2 separate regions of the Homo sapiens genome follow, and region 1 is linked to region 2. The links are contacts of gene promoters, found by promoter capture Hi-C in blood cells and fetal thymus (Javierre and others, 2016). All regions are on one chromosome and are shown on one strand. The core of a region is centred on a gene start or on the middle of the fragment in contact, and the rest is flanking DNA. Distances in the headings are between cores, read along the strand shown. Region 1 overlaps L3MBTL1 (L3MBTL histone methyl-lysine binding protein 1). Region 2 holds the start of TOX2 (TOX high mobility group box family member 2).

Evidence for each region. Contacts are between HindIII fragments. The CHiCAGO score rates a contact against its expected background, and 5 or more counts as called.
Region 1: a contact is called between a fragment that was not itself captured here and the fragment with the promoter of TOX2 in region 2, in 1 of 17 cell types (endothelial precursors). The highest score is 7.6, in endothelial precursors.

Annotation. Positions count from the first base shown.
Region 1 is chr20:43,540,151-43,543,867 of GRCh38, forward strand. It overlaps L3MBTL1 (L3MBTL histone methyl-lysine binding protein 1), which reads left to right. Exons shown (of 22, transcript NM_001377303.1): 20 at 1-158; 21 at 603-665; 22 at 784-1,745. The coding sequence ends at 978. Among named protein-coding and RNA genes, the nearest start is that of SGK2, 17 kb to the right of the region's middle. The HindIII fragment of the contact is 8,375 bases long and covers 1-3,717 here.
Region 2 is chr20:43,912,865-43,916,637 of GRCh38, forward strand. It overlaps TOX2 (TOX high mobility group box family member 2), which reads left to right and starts at 1,988. Exons shown (of 9, transcript NM_001098797.2): 1 at 1,988-2,126. The coding sequence starts at 2,028. RefSeq lists silencers at 1,639-1,758, 1,859-1,958, 1,979-2,088, 2,139-2,228, 3,299-3,358 and 1 more and enhancers at 1,725-2,442, 2,443-3,160. The HindIII fragment of the contact is 9,025 bases long and covers 1-3,773 here.

The sequences.
Region 1 (3,717 bases), core at 117-2,616, 370 kb before region 2:
CCCTCACGCCCGATGTCGTGCACCAGTCCCTCTTCATGTCAGCCCTGTCGGCCCACCCTGACCGCTCACTCTCAGTGTGCTGGGAGCAGCACTGCAAGCTCCTGCCAGGAGTAGCGGGCATCTCAGCCTCGACAGTCGCCAAGTGGACCATCGATGAGGTGAGGAGCGAGGGCCCTTCTTTATCCTTCTCTTCCTCTCCTCCTCCCTCTCACCATACCCTGGTGGAAAGGCCCAGGTCAGGTAGAACCCGGTACCACTCCTGGCACTACCTCTTGCTCATCTGTCCTGTGCACAGTCCCTTCTAGCTGCCCAGTAGGGGCTGACTGAGACCCTTCCTGATAGGTCCATTATGGCAGAGGGGGCGGGGGCTGTGCTGCTGTTTCAGCCAGAAATCCAGCAGGAGAGGCAGGCTTCGGTCCCAGGCCTCAGAAGCAAGGGGCCCAACTTGGCACATCTGCCAGCATAGAAACCCTAGGATCCTTTTAGGCTGGTGAGAAAAAGCAGCATTGGCACAGCTCAGAAGCACCTAGGCTGTGGAGGCCAGCTCTCCCTACATGCCTAAGCTCTGTCCCCTGGTCAACATGTCATCTTTGGTTTCCAAGGTCTTCGGCTTTGTTCAGACCCTGACAGGTTGTGAGGACCAAGCACGCCTCTTCAAAGACGAGGTAAGGTGCAAGTGCAGAGTGGGAGACAGAGCCGGGGTCACTGTCCTTAAGACGGCAGGAAGCAGGTGCCCTCCCCAGCGTCACTTCTGCTAAGGAGGGACCCGTGTTGCCCCACCAGGCAAGAATAGTCAGAGTGACCCATGTATCTGGGAAGACTCTAGTCTGGACTGTGGCCCAGCTTGGGGACCTTGTGTGCTCAGATCATCTTCAGGAAGGAAAAGGCATCCTGGAGACAGGAGTCCATTCACTCCTCTGCTCTCTACCCACTCATTTGCTTGCCAAACTTAGCTTTGCCAGTGATAGTCAATATTAAAGTGTACTTTTTTCCCCTTTAATCCAATATAGTTGATAATTAAAGTGTATTTTGAATGACACAGATATTGTGATTTACTGCAAGGATCCTAACACACACTTAAAATCAAGAGCCAAGGAGTAGTGAGTTGTAGATAAAAAAAGAATGTCAGCTTTGGAGACAGTCTGGGTTTAAATCCCAGTTCTGTCAATTTGAGCTGTTTACTGTCTCTGAGCCTACATCTTCTTGTCTGTAAAATGGAGATAAAATGGGTTTAATGAGGTCTACCTTGCAGAGCCATTGTGAGCATTGGAAATGATGAATGAATCATACCAGAACGTCTAGTATAATTACAGTCATGCATTGCTTAACGATGGGGATACATTCTTAGAAATGTGTCACTAGGCAATTCTGTCATTGTGTAAACATTATAGAATGTACTTACACAAACCTAGATGTTATATGTATTTTTATTTACATGTATATTTTCACATGAAATACCAAATGTCACAGCATTATTACTGAATGTCAGTCATTTCCCCTACTTGATCTGCAATGCCAATATCAAGGGCCATGTATCAGGTTTCTGTATATGTTCCACTATAATCTTATGGGACCATGGTTTTAAATGTGGAATCATTGACAGAAATGTCTTTATGTAGCATATGGCTGTGTATCACTAGTATATAATAGAGCAATATTATGGAGGAATATGTAGATCCAATCACTTTACCTATACAAAATGACTGCTATGGTGGGAACACAATAAACACCAGTTTTGACTTTTAGTGCATAGTTGTCCTTAAGTAAAGAACTTTGTCGGCCGGGCACAGTGGCTCACGCCTGTAATCTCAGGACTTCGGGAGGCCACGGTGGGTGGATCACCTGAGGTCAGGAGTTCAAGACCAGCCTGGCCAACATGGTGAAACCCTGTCTCTACTAAAATTACAAAATTAACTGGGTGTGGTGGCATGCACCTGTAGTCCCAGCTACTCGGGAGGCTGAGGCAGGAGAATCACTTGAACTTGGAAGGAGGAGGTTGCAGTGAGCCGGGATTGCACCACTGCACTCCGGTCTGGGCAACAGAACGAAACTCTGTCTCAAAAAACATAAAAAGAAAGTAGTTGGCTCTTCTTGCCCTGGAAGAGTGTCTGTATCCAAGCCCAGCACAGCCAGTTTCCTCCTTTGAGCTGTGTGTGGTGGAGCTCCCAAACTCCTCCCACTTCCAGGTGCTTTCCTTGCCCTCTGTGTTGGTGATCTTCTCTTCATGTACGTGTCCAGAGCTGAACTCCCTGTTTTCGATGGCCTCTGGCCAACATAGAACACACCGGGGTGCTGCTCCCCTAGAAGTGTTTTAATTGAGATAAAATGCCTATAGAGAGATAGGCACACATCTTGAAAGTACAATTTCACAGGTTTTATGACATGTCTGCCCTTGAACTCAACATTTCAATCAAGGTACAGACATTTCCTCTCGTGTTAAGTCATACAAAAAAAATTTAACAAAAAAAAAAAAAAAAAAAGAAAAGAAAAAGATACAGACATTTCCCTCATACCAGAAAGTTCTTTCTCAGCCCCTTTTAGTCAGTCCGCACCCCAAAAGACAACCACTTTTCTAATTTCTAGCGTCATAGATGAGCTTTGCCTGTTCTGGAACTCATATAAATGGAATCATAGAGCATGTACTCTTCTAGGTCTGTCTCTGCACAGTGTCATGTTTTTGAGGCTTCTCCACGTTGTTATCTGTATCTGTAGTTTGTTTATTGCTGACTGGTGTTCCATTTCATGAGTATACCATAATTTCTTGTTAATGGTCAACATTAGGGTTATTTTCTCTTCCCCTAGATTTGAACCCTATTTTTTTGTTAGCAAAACTTAAGTTTGCCCTAGCTTTATTATAGCCACATCACACTAGTTTGGGGTTCATAAAAGCCCCCAGGTGGTTTTCATGTCAACTACAGTCGAACCAAATTTTCCAGTGAGTACTTGCACCACTGAGTTTTTTTTTTTTTAATAACCTCATGTAAAACTTTACATCCACCCTATTAAATGTTATCTGGTTGGTTTCATAGCCTTGTTTTAAATCTTGATTCTGTCATCTACGATGTTAATAAGGCTTTCCAACCTCATACAGCTTGCACATTTGATAACTAAGCCTTCTGTGTCTTTGTCCAAGTCTTAACATGTTTTATGAGAAGGCAGAACCACGTGGCACGCTGTTTCAAACCTTTCTGTCGGTTGACCACAGGTCTTCGAATGTAGTTGTTCAGCCAGCTGCAGAGCCACCCAAGTTTCATCCTCCAGCCTATGCTTGGCTTTACATTCTCTTCTTCTTGTGACAAGGGCTGTGTCTCCCAGGAACATTTGCTGTGTCTCTTGGTTCAGCATGGTCTGTGATATAAAAAACTAGTGGCCAAAGGGAGGTGTACTGGTAGACTGCCAGCATTAAATAGAATCTCAGAGTGGAGCAGGACCTTTATGGGGTCTGAGGATCACCATCTCCAGTGTCTGGCCCATGTCATCAGTTTCCCCATGTAGGACAATGCTCCAGGAGTGGGCTCTCTCTGGCTTAACTGATGATTGGGTATTCAGGGACACCAGTCAAGATGCTCTCCATCTGGGACACAGACCAGCCAGTAGAGGGTTGCTTCATGAGTGAGGAATTAGAGCAAAGTGCATAGATGGTCTTATGGTTGTTCTGTACTGGTGGCCCTAAAAGTAGTCTGTCCAGTCCTCTCTTTGTCATCTTTATTGTAGCCA
Region 2 (3,773 bases), core at 738-3,237:
AAATAAAGAAGCCATTCATAATAGCAACAAAAAACACCCGGGGCTAAATTTAATAAAAGATGTGCAAGGTCTCCACGTAGAAAACTACAAAACATTGCTGAGATAACTTTTTTAAAAACCCAAAATAAATGAAGGGACATACCATGTTCATGGATAAGAAGTTTTACTATTGAAAATGTTAATTTTATTCCAATTGATCTAAAGGTTCAAAGTGATACCAATTGAAATCCCAGCAAGATTGTGTTAGTGTGTTTGTGTGTATATATATAAATAGGTATGCTGATTCCAAAATTTCTGTGAAAGTGTAAACATCAAGAATAGCCAATGCAGTCTTAAAAGAACAAAATGGGTAGGCTTATTTCATGGGACATTTAGACTTATAAGCCCACAGTAATCCAGACATTGTGATAATGGCACAGGGAGAGAAAAATAGGCTAACAGAACAGAATAGAGAATTCAGGAACAGTCTTATGCACATATCGACTACTTGATTTACGACAATGTTAGCATTGCAGAAGAGTATGTGTGTGTGTGTAGGGGGGTGGTGGTGGTGGTGGTGATCTTTTCAATAAAGAGTGCTGGTCAGTTGGATATCCAGATGAAAAAAATGGACACAGGACAATGGAAATTTTTTTCTGATGAGGTGTGGCATTGTATTTCTAGAAACAATGACTGCTGAAATTTATTTGGAAGTTCTTTCCTTTCTGAGCTATAATTTCCCTCTGTTGTTCCCAAGCCTTCAGTGAATGCCTGTTTCCCACACCTATCTTTTGTTAATGCATCTTTCTTATGGTCCTAGTTCTAGGCCAGGACCAGCAAAGCCCAAGCAGCAGTTGAGAACTAAGTTCTAAGCTAGCTCCTGAGTGGGCAGGAAGCTCAAGTCCTTTTCTCCCAATGGCATCCTATATCCTGGTGCCACACAAGAATGCCATTCTGGCTGACTTCGCCTCCTGGCCTCTCCCAGTCAGACATACCTGGAGCAGTCAGTGAGCAGTGAGATTGCTAGGGGAGATTGCTAGTGTAGACAATTCTTGCATGAAAAGGGGGATGGGGGTGCAACAGTCTAGCAACCAGCAAGTGATATCAAGAACTAGAGGGTTTTTTTTTTTTTTTTGGTTGGGGAGGAACCCCATTTCACAGTCACCTTTCTGACCCACCATCAGAGCCATCCCATTCCAATCTCATTTTCTTCCTTTCCTCACTCCAAGAGACCGTGACTGTGGGCAGATCCTAGACCCCTCTTCAGAGCTTCGGGCTCTAGGCATTCCTGCGGCCCTCCCCTCCCTATCATTAAAAGGGGTGGGGTCCTGCTGCCTTCTCCAAGTGGTTTCAGCTCTGGATCCTTTGGGGGCAACGGAGCCCACCCGCCTGGAGCTCCATTACTGATGCTGCAAGTTTTTGACTCAGTTTCCCCATATGTGAGTGAGAGTTTAAGCGCGGCAATCTCCAGGGGGGGCTGTCAAGCTGACTCAGATCAGTGAGACGAGGAGGGGGCGGGCATGCTAAGAGCATCCTCCGGCGCTGGCCTGCGTCCCCCCAGGTAAGGCAGCACCCATCTCCAAAGTGGTCCTGTCACCACCTTCCTCTTCCCCCCGCACCCACGCCGCGGGGCGGGGACTAGCGCCGCCTCAAATATTTAGGGCAAGGGAGTGTCCCACTTCTGGGGAGGGGTGCCGTTCGGGCTTCTCTCCTCACCGTGGGTGGCGAAAGGCGGGACGGAAAAGCGCCGTCTGGACAGGCGCGCCCCCCTCAGGGATGCAGGGCCGGGCGGGGGACCCGGCGGCGGCCCAGCCCGGAGGAAGGACCTCCACGCCCCGGCCCGGGCCCCCGGGCCCCCGGCCCTAGGCAGCGCCCGAGGCCGGAACAATAGCGCGCGCGGGCGGGGCGGGGGCGGGGGCGGGGCGCTCCTCTGGGCACCGCCCCCGGCCCGCCCCCCGCGCTCGCAGTCCCGCTCGCACACTGGCTCCCACCCGCCGCCCGCCCAGGCACTGCCCGCGGGAGCCGCCGCCGCCGCCGCCGCGCCCGCCATGGACGTCCGCCTGTACCCCTCGGCGCCCGCGGTGGGCGCGCGGCCCGGGGCCGAGCCGGCCGGCCTGGCGCACCTGGACTATTACCACGGCGGCAAGGTAGGCGGGGGCGGGCGGGGGTCCCCGGCGGGCGGGGCCGGAGTCACCTGGCAGCTCGGGACTCAGGCGCTCCCGGGGTCACACGGGGCCGCGCACATCAGCCCCGCCGACGGGCACGGGCGGCTCACATCGATCCCCTCGCGGCCACGCTCACGCCCTGAGTTGTTGGGATCGCGGGCAGAAGTCATCCCGACAGCCACCCGTGCGACGACACAGTGGCCCCTCACTCGCGTCCCCCTGACAGCCTCGCAGTCATTCACAAGCCGTCACAGTGACCCACAGCCACACGCAGGCGGCCAGGCACTGCTTACACGGTCCCGCCGTCCCACGCAAGTCACCCTGACAGTCACTTATACACAACGACACGCAACCACTCACCCGCAAACAGCCTCACCGCCACAGACGAGTCACCCACAGACGCTCCGATGCCCCACACACCGTGACATGCCCCCACCCGCTGTCACACCCAGGCACAACGGGGGACAGTCACACAAAGAAGTCGCCCGACAGTCACACTCTCGCAGCCACAACGCCTCACCCAGGCGCACGCTGTCACACACAGCCACCCCCCTGGACGGTGAGCCTCAGACACAGATCGTCCTGACGGCCACACAGTCACACGCGGTCACACCCAGGGACGGCCACACCTCGGTCATCCACACTCGCGCGTCGAGGTTTAACTTCTCAGCGCCGCAGCACACTAATTGGGCAGTTTACTAATTGGCCGTCACTGCCTGGCGGGGCCTCGGATTCCGAGTAGGCTGCGGCCAATCGAGGCCTGTGTCCTCCCGGGAGCGGTGAGCCGGCGTCCCTCCAGGCTGGGGCTGTAGTGCCGGACACCCTCCCTCCTCCATGTTTCCAGGATCTATCCCCCCACCCCAGCCAGGTCCCAGCTGCGCTGCGCCGGGCGCATTCCCAGTGATGGAGGCTTGCGTGCCTGGAACCCCGAACCCGAGGCGTCAGGTCCCACTGCCGGGTCTGGCCCAGCCTGGATGGGTTGGGTGCCTCTAAGCAGTCCGCGTCCCCTTCGGTCGCCGGAGAGGGAACTTTCAAACTTAGTTAGGAAGCCAGACTGTCCGCGCGTCCGCCAGTCGGTGCGTCGGTCCCGGGCCGGCTGGAGCCAAGCGCGGGTTTTCGTCACTCGGAGCCCGGATTGAACAGCGCGCGTGGGTTTCCCGCAGCCCTGGCGCAGACGCGTGGGCTCCGTGGCGATGCGGGGTGAGTGCGCGTCCAGTGGCTGGATCGGCGCCCCCCAGGGTCTCTCCCCAACCTCGCAGGCTTTTCGTCAGGCCCCTGGTAGTGGGGATGAGGCAGGAGAGAGGCGTCCCGGCGCGGATCCCGGGGCCTCCCGGGCTGGGCCTCCCTGAGTGCGCCCTCAGGCCCCAGGGGAGCGGCTTCTGGCAAAGCCTCCCTGCAGTTCGCCAGGGGCAGCAAGCATCCAGGCCACTAGGGCCTGCGCGATGTGGGGCGGTGGTGGGCGACAAGTGAGGTCTCGCGAAGAGTGGCGGTGGTTCTCTTTTGTCCAGTGACCTGCAAAGTTAGAAGCCGATGAGGGGGGATGGTAGCCTCAGGAGAAGGCCGGGAGCTGCCTCCAGTCTGATGGAGGAAAATAGATTAAAAGTAGCAAGTGGAGTTTTCAGGGAGGAG